Regions from separate parts of the Homo sapiens genome. Here region 1 is linked to region 2. The links are contacts of gene promoters, found by promoter capture Hi-C in blood cells and fetal thymus (Javierre and others, 2016). All regions are on one chromosome and are shown on one strand. Each heading gives the region's core, a stretch centred on a gene start or on the middle of the fragment in contact. The rest is flanking DNA. Distances are from core to core; before and after follow the strand shown. Region 1 has its middle 30 kb from the start of IL7R. Region 2 holds the start of SPEF2 (sperm flagellar 2).

Region 1 (4,524 bases), core at 1,953-4,452, 270 kb before region 2:
ATCTAGCAGACATGATTCTGAAGTTTACATCTGGAAACTTGGAAACAATGGAAAATGTTGACGTTAAAAAGCCAATTAACAGAACAATAGAAGCAAAGAAACAAGAGAGATCAAATGACTGATGAAGCAAGGTTCTGGAGGAAGAGAGACGGATAGAGATAGAGTTAAGGGCATTGAATGGTTGGTTTGGTCTTCTACAGATGAAGGGTTAGCTTGTTCTTAGACTAGGGGAATAGCAGGCAGGAATTTATCCAGTTTTGAGTTTGCAGATGGAGATAGGAAATGAGAGCAAAAACATGAGTTATGGTCTACATTTTTTCAAAGTATAGGCAAACTTATTTTCTGGGAATGAGAAAGGCCAAGGTTCAATGGAAGACTTAGAGTAAAAGGTGAGTGTATTTGACAATGGTTATCGAGGGCATTGGAAAAGAATGCTGTCAAGCACAAATAAAGGAAAACAAATTTATATGGGCCCCGTTTGGCAGCATTATGTGATTTTTCACTAAGACAGTTTAGCAGATAAAGTGCAGAAGCAGAGATGTGACTTGTAGGAACATGTTGTATCATCTTGTTCCATAGCATTTGTCACTGCAATTTGTATAATAAGAAGGCCTTGATAAACTGTGATGAAATTTATTAATTACTTAAAATACTGAAGGATAAGAAATCTTGAAATATACTGTTGTACTATCCACATCACAAGGGAGAAATCAGATTATGACTCTAGAATAGAAAATCTTGCTATCAAGGTTATTATAGTCTAGATTTTACAGAAAAAATGAGAATAATAATTCTAAGTAAGAGTTATATTAATACATAATTTATACTTTTATTTTGTATAATAATATATACATACATATATGTATGTATACATATGTATACTCCCATATATATGTATATATGTATGTATACATATGTATGCATACATGTATACTCCCATATATGTATGTATACATATGAATGTATATATGTATACATATGTATGTATATATATGCATGTATACATATATACACATCTATATACTACCCCCCTCAAAAAAAAAGAAGACAAAAGAAATAAGAGGAAGTTTCCTGCTTTCATGCATCCACCACCATCCCATTCTTTTCCCCAATAACCACTGAAAACATTTTGGAGCACTGCCTTCCAAACTTTTTTCTAAGCATATTCTCATTCTAATATTCCCTCTTTTTCTCTCTAATTAAAAAAAAAAAAAACCCTCGTTCTGATGATAGACATTCTTGTTTTCTTCTCCAACATTCTCAGTTTCTTCCTTCTTTGTCACCCCTATTTTGACCAGGTACCCATCTCATTCTCAGTTCTGGAAAAGGTGAGCCATTTCCAAGCCAATAAGTTCATGGCATTTTCCTAGTGACTGTTATTGGCCCAAAGATATGCATATGATTTCAACTGGATCAATCATATAAAAGGGAAAACCTTCCATTTCACACTGAAGAGAACAGTATTTTTTTAATGTTAACAATTTCAGTAAGAAATGATTATAATTTTGCTATTAGATTAACAGATCCATGTATATTGAAGTCCTCGCATGACCCAAATACTTTTTCTTCCCTAAAGTTTCTCAATACACATATAGACAAAACTTATTTCACAAAGTAATGGAAAGCATGTGGCTGTAGTCTTGCTGCAATATGGATGAGATAGGAAGAGCTTCCTCAAATAGGGAGGTGACATTTGTGTCTTTCTGTAAATGTAACCTAAGCTGTCCTCATGTATGACTGTAAGATATTGCATTAATGGCTTGACTCTTCACTCTTTCTCCTATCCACCTATTTTACCATGTGATTTTAAGTTTCTACCCAAGGGGAAATATATTTCTTCACTCCTTGATTCTGGGTTTGGTCATGTGATCTTCTTTGCCAATAAAATGAAGTGGAATTGATGGGTAGGCCAGCCTTGCATTTTTCTGCTTGCCCTCTTATGCCCCTGCTGTAAAAAGAGGCAGCTGGGTTAGCCTGCTTGTCTCTGGAGAAAGACGGGAAACTTATGGAACAGAGGCATTCCCAGCTGAACCCAGCTAACTTTCCTTCAGTTTCAGATCCCTGAGTCATCCTAGCTGTTAGTAATATCATAGAATCACCCAGCAGAGCCCAATCTAGATCATTCAACACAATTTGTGAGAATAAATGTTGCTTAAAGCCGCTGAGTTTTGGCATGATTTGTTGTTGAGCATCAATGTAGCAATAGCTGATAGATACACCGCACATTTCGGATTTTTCATGGAAATGATAGGGGGAAGGAGTAAGAGAAAGATGGAGACTTTTGGAGAGTTTTATCTTGCTAGAAGCTTTTGACAAAATAACATAGACATTTTTCTTTATCAGCATATGTAGCACTACCGTGCTAGTTTTACAATGCTGGTAATTTCTTTACTAAATTTTAAAAAGTCACAACCAAAAGAAAAGATAAAAAGAAACTGGAAAAACATAGTAACATTATGACAAGCAAAGTTCTGTTATCCTTAACACCCGAAGTGTTATAATTCAGCAAGCAAAAGATGAAGAGTCTAAGAAGGAAATTTTTTTTTACATTAAAAGAATTTTTTAATGGCTTTGTTAGTATTCCATAATATGAATATACTATAATTTATTTAGATTTAGAATTCTTAGTTACAAGAAATAATATATAGATATTTTATACATAGAATTTCTAGGTATACACATTAAAATTTTTGTTATATATTTCCAAATTGTCCTAATTTACATTCCTATTAACAGTATATGATAAAGCCCATTTTCCTATGCCCTTCTCAGCACTGAAATTTAGTGATCTTTATAATTTTCACAATTTAATGGGCAAAGCATTTATCTCATTCATTTTATCAGCATTGTTTATTCAGAATGAGATTACGCACATTTTCCTATTTTTAAAGTTTGTTTTATTTCTCCTGTGAGCCTTCTGTTAATGTGCTGTGTTCATTTCCTTCTTGGGCTCTTCATCTTTTGCTTGCTGACTTGTAAGACTCTGGGGTCTTATAAGGATAACAGAAGTTTGCTTGTCATAGTGTTACTGTCTTTCTCCAGTCTATTTTTATCTTTCTTTTGGTTGTGACTTTTTAAAATTTAGTAAAGAAATTACCAGCATTCTAAATTTTATCTAGTCAAACATATCAATCTTTTCCTTTTATGGCTTTTAGGTTTTACGTTTTATCTAGAAACGCTTTTTGCATCCAAAAAATATGAAATGATTGATCCATGTATTCTAGCATTTGTTTTTATTTTAAAAATTATTTATATCTTTGAGTTATGTGGAATTTATTTTGAAATAAGAAGTCAGTTACCTTTCTTCATTTGCAAATGGCTAGTGTGTTATTCCAATCTTATTTGCTAAATAATCCACTTTAACCCTACTGATTAGAAATGGATGAATTTTTTGTAATTACATAGATCTGGACTTGCAGATTCTCTGTTTTATACCATTGATAGTTCTGTGAATTCCTGCTGAATCAAATTTTAAAACCACGTGAATGGTTAGTTGCTTCACAATTCTTTTCTTCTCTGGAATTGTGCAGGCTATTCTCCAACATTTATTTCTCTGCAAGATATTTAGAATAATAGTGTATGCACAGAAGAGCATCTGGAAGCCTAAATGTCACTTATTAAATGTGACTATTCCTGAAGAGTGTGATTAGAAAGTGACATCTTCAACTTGATACATTACATGTCTATCTTTTTTTAATTTGAGGACACAACCAAATAATAGTTTAGTTGTAAAGATTCCATAAGAATTAAAAAAAATAAACATGAGAATATTGTAAGCGGAGACCTTAATAAAGTATCTGTGTCTTGTAGTGTGTTTTCTACTTGATTCTCTTGTGTTTTCCATATATACAATAATTTTATCTGCCAATAATGACGATTTAATTTTCTCCTATTCAATATTTATGCTTTTTACTGTGTTTTCTTGTTTAATTGAATTTCTTAGAATTTCTAAAACCATGTTAAATGAAGTGACAATAGAATTTCTTTTGTCTTATCCTTCAATATAATGGAGTACTTTTAAAATTTCACCACTGAGCATGACCCTAGCTTATCTGCTCTTATTTTATTAAAATTTTTTATTTGAGAAAATAAAGCTTTAAGCATCATTCAGTTCTACACTGGCAACTTCACACTTGAACTTCACACTGTGAAATTCATGAAAGTTTATAATTATGTAGCAAACAGGTTTATCAGTCTGACACTATAGCATTTACTGAAGCTCTAATTAAATTAATGCTTTCTTAGGCTCTAAAAGTAATATTTCAGTCTATCAGTGGATAAGCTTAATAATAAAATGTTTTCTGATTATTCTGCATAGTTTTTGTGTCATGACTAGTGCAGTTCATACTTTGCAGGAACTAATTTATCATAAAAAGAGGGTCCTTTTCAGTCTCTGTAAGTTTTCCACCTCTTCTTGATGAAAAATCTTTACTTAGGGTAAAGGCAAATTGGTTCTAACAATTTACCATTGAGAGGCCCTCCAGATGAACTCAAGTGTTTCAGCACAATTCAGTATGTAAGCCT
Region 2 (4,841 bases), core at 317-2,816:
TTACAGGCGTGAGCCACCGCACCCGGCCCGGGTGTGGTTTTTACTAATAAAATAAATGAACTAAATTAAACTAAGCAATATGTAACTGCTTTTCTTTTAGAAGAGTACAACTTAAGGGCATGATATTTTATTTTGGCTCCTATGGTGAGACAGGAATAAGAAACAATAAATGCTAAATATTGTCCTCAGTCCATCATATTTTAGCAAATAAACAGTTGGAGACACAATGGGATAATCGTAGAATACCAGGAAAGAATTTATTGCAGTTCACAGGGAGTGTGTAGATGGTTATTTGACAAAGAAAGAGTCTGAGGTTTATGCCTCAAGAAATGCAACAGGAGATGCTCCGTGCTAAAGATCCTCATGCTGAGAGTATTAATAACTACTTTGCACCCACAGAAACACTACCGATCTAGCAACTTCTGTAGATAAGCTAAGGTTGAACTGGCACCACTGCCTCTCTGGTAGCAAGCTGGTGTTAAGCAAGTTCTTCTGGGAAAATGGACTGAAATGACTTGCCCTGAAAACCTCTTCCCTTAAGCAAAAAAAGAAAAAAAGACAAACAAAACCAACTGAAAAATGAACTCCTGAAGAATTACAGGGCAGTCAAGGAAGCTGCCAGCATGTAAAATTGTCTCTGTGGTTGTCAGACTTGGAAACTTTGGGTGGCAACTGCATGGTTAGGATAAAATTAGGTTGGTGAATAAGGTCAGCTTTGGGCAAGAGCCAATAGTGACCAGAAATAGCTAGTTTGTGATTTGGGGCTTAAAATTTACTAAAATTTGTAAATGTTAACATATTCTACATTAACTTATTTTTCACCCACCCTCCCCTGCTGGTCAGTTAAGTATGGAAAGCATTATTAGGTCCATTTTATAGAGAAGGAAACACATTCAGAGAAGGTATTGTAACTTGTCCAGTGGCTTCATATTTCATCGACTAGCCACCACACCATGCTTCTGCTTCTGGTGATGTGAAGGAGGCATCGTTGGGGTCAGACTACAAAGTCCAGCAAAGTTCCCTCTCCACAGAAGCAAAGGAGACCTTCCTAAACCCTCTGATTGCCTAGAACCACATCACAAAGTCAGAATGCCTGCGGGTTGGGCCCACCGTGACAAGGGTAACTCGAGAGCGGCAGAGTGGGGACGTGACAAGGCCTTGCCCTGGCTGGGGTGAGCTGTAGGGAGGTGGCGGGACGGACCTGGGGCACCGCCGAGCCGAGTTGCTCACTGTGGGATGCTGCCGGCTACGCAGGTGCCCCACCTGTGCAGCTCGCGCCCTGCCCGCCACCTTCCCTGAGTGCGCTGCGCTGCGCTGCAGGCTCTGCGCCCCGCTAGCCCCTCAGACGCTCGCCCCTGGCCGTGGTCACTCACTCACGGTCCGGGACACCTTCAACTCCTTGTTGAGCCACTGGCACAGGATCTCCGACATGGTTCAGCCGGTGCCTCAGACCGCAGGCGGGGGCTTAGAAACTCGCCAGGAACCAAGCCTGCCAGCCCGCGTCCTCCTGTAGCCAAGGGCAACCCTTTGCTATGGAAGCGTATCCAGGCTGGAACTAGGCGAAAGGCCTTAGAGAAGAGGGGACGCTAGGGCTCAGCCGCAGAGGACAGAAAATCGTGTTTCGCCACCTGCTGGCGGGTAAGACCTGAGCGTGCGCCAGCGCAGGAGGAAGCCGTTGGGGGCCTGTGAGAGAAGTTAGGGAGCAGTGGGTGTGGGGAGAGGCGAGGCGGGAACACTTAGGGACACAGCAGGAGCTTCTTAGGTGAGCAGAAAGTAAAACCAGAGTCTCCGCAGGGCTCCGTGGCTCACGCAAATAATCCTACCACTTTGTGGAGGGGGTGGCGCTCGACTGAGCCTGGGAGTTCAAGACCAGCCTGGGCAAGGTAGCAGAAACCGTTTTTTTTTCTGTAAGAAATTAGGCGGCCGTGGTGGCGTGCGCCTGTGGTCCCACCAGCTCAGGATGCTGACGTGGAAGGATCAACCCAGGAGGCGGAGTTTACAGTGAACCGAGATCGAGCCACTGCACTCCAGCCTGGGCAACAAAATGAGACTCTGTCTCAAAAAAGAAGAAGAAAGAAGAAAGAATAACAAGAAGGAGAAGGAGAGGGAGAGGAAGAGGAGGAGGAGAAGAGGAAGAACAGGAGGAAAAGAAGAAAGAGAAGGAGAAGAAGGAGAACAAGGAGAAGGAGGAGAACAAGGAGAGATCAAAGAAGAGGAAGAAGAAGAAAAAAGAAGAGGAAGAAAAAGAAGAAGGGTATTTGGGGTATCCATCACCTTGAGTATTTATCATTTATATACGTTGGTAACATTTCAAATCTTCTCTTCTAGCTATTTTGAAATATACAATGTATCATTGCTAACTATAGTCACCCCAGTTGCTAGCTAACATTAGACCCTATTTCTTCCATCTAACTATAAGTTTGTACCCATTCACCAACCTCTCTTCATTTCCCCTTCCCACCCTCACATCCTTTCCAGTCTCTGGTACTCATAATTTTGTTCTCTATCTCCAGGGGATCAACTTTTTTAGCTACCACATATGAGTAAAACATGCAGTATTTGTCTTTCTGTTGCCTGGCCTATTTCATTGAACATAATGGCCTCCAGTTCATCCATGTTGCTGCAAATGACCTGTTTTCATTCTTTTCCATGGACAAATGGTATTCCGTTATGTATATATACCATTCTTTCTTTTTCCATTTGTTCGCTGATGGACACTTAGATTTATTCCATATCTTGGCTATTTTGAATAGTTCTGTGATAAACATGTGAGTGCAGGTATCCCTTTGATATACTGACTTCTTTTCCTTTGGATAGATACACTGTAGTGGAACTGCTGGATTTTATGGCAGTTCTGTTTTTAGTTTTTTGAGAAACCTCCATACTGCCTTCCATAGTGGTCATACTAATTTACATCCCCACCAACAGTATGAGTTCCCTTTTCTCCACATCTTCTCCAGCATCTGTTGTTTTTTGTCTTTTTAATAATAACCATTCTAACTGGGGTAAGATGGTATTTTATTGTGGTTTTGATATGCATTTGATAATTAGAGATGATGAATTTTTTCATATACCTGTTGGCCATTTGTACCTCTTCTTTTGAGAAATGTCTATCCGTGTCCTTTGCACACTTTTTAGTGGGATTGTTTGTTTTTTTAGTGTTGAGTTGTTTGAGTTTCTTGTATGTTGTGGATATGAGTCCCTTGTCAGATTAATAGTTTGCAAATATTTTCTTCCATTCAATGGGTTGTCTCTTCACTCCGTTGATTGTTTCATGTATTGTACAGAAGCTTTTTAGTTTAATATAGCCCCCAGTTGTCTATTTTTGTTTTAGTTGTCTGTGCTTTTGAGGTCTTATTCATAACATTTTTGCCTAGGCCAATGTCCTGAAGTGTTTTCCCTATGTTTTCTTCTAGTAGTTTTATAGGTTTAGGTCTAACATTTAAGTCTTTAATCCATCTTGAGTTGATATTTGTGTATGTGGTGAGAAATACTGTTCAGCTCTACTCTTCTGCATATGGATAGCCAACTTATCCAGCACCATTTATTGAAGAGAGGGTTCTTTCAACATAGTTCTTGGTGCCTCTGTTGAAAATCAGTTGGCTATAAATATGTGGATTTATTTCTGGGTTCTCTGTTCTGTTACATTGGTCTATGAGTCTATTTTTATACCACTACCAAGAAGTTTTGATTACTATAACCTTGTAATATAATTTGAAGTCAGATATTGTGCTGTTTCCAGCTTATGCTGTATTAATTACTATAGCCTTGTAATATACTTTAAAGTCAGATACTGTGCTGTTTCCAGCCTTGTTCTTTATGCTTAGGATTGCTTTGGCTATATGGACTCTTTATTGGTTCCATATGAATTTTAGGATTGTTTTTTCTATTTCTGTGAAAATGATCTTGGTATTTTTATAGGAATTGAATCGAATCTATAGATTGTCTTAGGCAATATGATCATTTTAATGATATTCATTCTTCCAATTCATGAACATGGGGTGTCTTTCTATTTGTTTGTGTCCTCTTCAATTTCTGTCATCAGTGTTTTATAATTTTTCTTGTAGGGTCTTTCACTGTCTTGGTTAAATGTATTCCTAGGTGTATATTTTTATTGTACCAATTGGAAATGAAATTGCTTTATTTATTTATTTGTTTATTCATTCATTGGTAGAGATGAGTTTTCTCTATGTTGCACAGGCTAGTCTTGAACTCCTGGGCTCAAGCAATCCTCTGCCTTGGCCTCCTAAAGACTTGGGACTACAGGTTTGAGCCACTGCACCTGGCCTTGATTTATTTTTCAGCTATTTCAGTATTAGTGTACAGAAATGCGACTGATTTTTGTATGTTCATTTTGTATCCTGCTACTTTATTGAATTTGCTTATCAGCTATGAGAGCTATTTGGTGGAGTTTTTAAATTTTTCTAAGTATAAGATTATGTCTTTTGCAAAAAGGAACTATCTTCCAATTTAAGTATGTTTTCTTTCTTTCTCTTGCCTAACTTATTTGGCTAGGACTTTCAGTACTCTCTTGAATAAGAGTAGTGAAAGTGGGCATCCTTGTCTTGTTCCAGTTTTTAGAGAAAACGCTTTCAACTTTCCCCCATTCAATATGTTAGCTGTGGGCTTGTCATATATGGTCTTTATTATTTTGAGGTATGTTCTTTCTATGCCTAGTTTGTGGAGAGTTTTTATCATGATGGAATGTTGAATTTTATTAAGTGTTTTTTCTCATCTATTGAGATCATCACATGGTTTTTGTCCTTCATTCTCTTGGTGTGATGTATAACATTTATTGATGTGTGTATGTCAAACCATCCTTGCATCCCTGGTATAAATCT

The links. The method cuts DNA at HindIII sites, captures the fragments that hold promoters and counts their contacts. A CHiCAGO score of 5 or more calls a contact.
Region 1: a contact is called between a fragment that was not itself captured here and the fragment with the promoter of SPEF2 in region 2, in 5 of 17 cell types (naive CD8 T cells, total CD8 T cells, activated CD4 T cells and 2 more). The highest score is 6.7, in naive CD8 T cells.

What each region holds. Positions count from the first base shown.
Region 1 is chr5:35,885,036-35,889,559 of GRCh38, reverse strand. No RefSeq gene overlaps it. Among named protein-coding and RNA genes, the nearest start is that of IL7R, 30 kb to the right of the region's middle. The HindIII fragment of the contact is 1,788 bases long and covers 2,309-4,096 here.
Region 2 is chr5:35,614,588-35,619,428 of GRCh38, reverse strand. SPEF2 (sperm flagellar 2) reads right to left here and starts at 1,566. Exons shown (of 37, transcript NM_024867.4): 1 at 1,374-1,566. The coding sequence starts at 1,431. RefSeq lists an enhancer at 716-1,523. The HindIII fragment of the contact is 5,837 bases long and covers 1-3,292 here.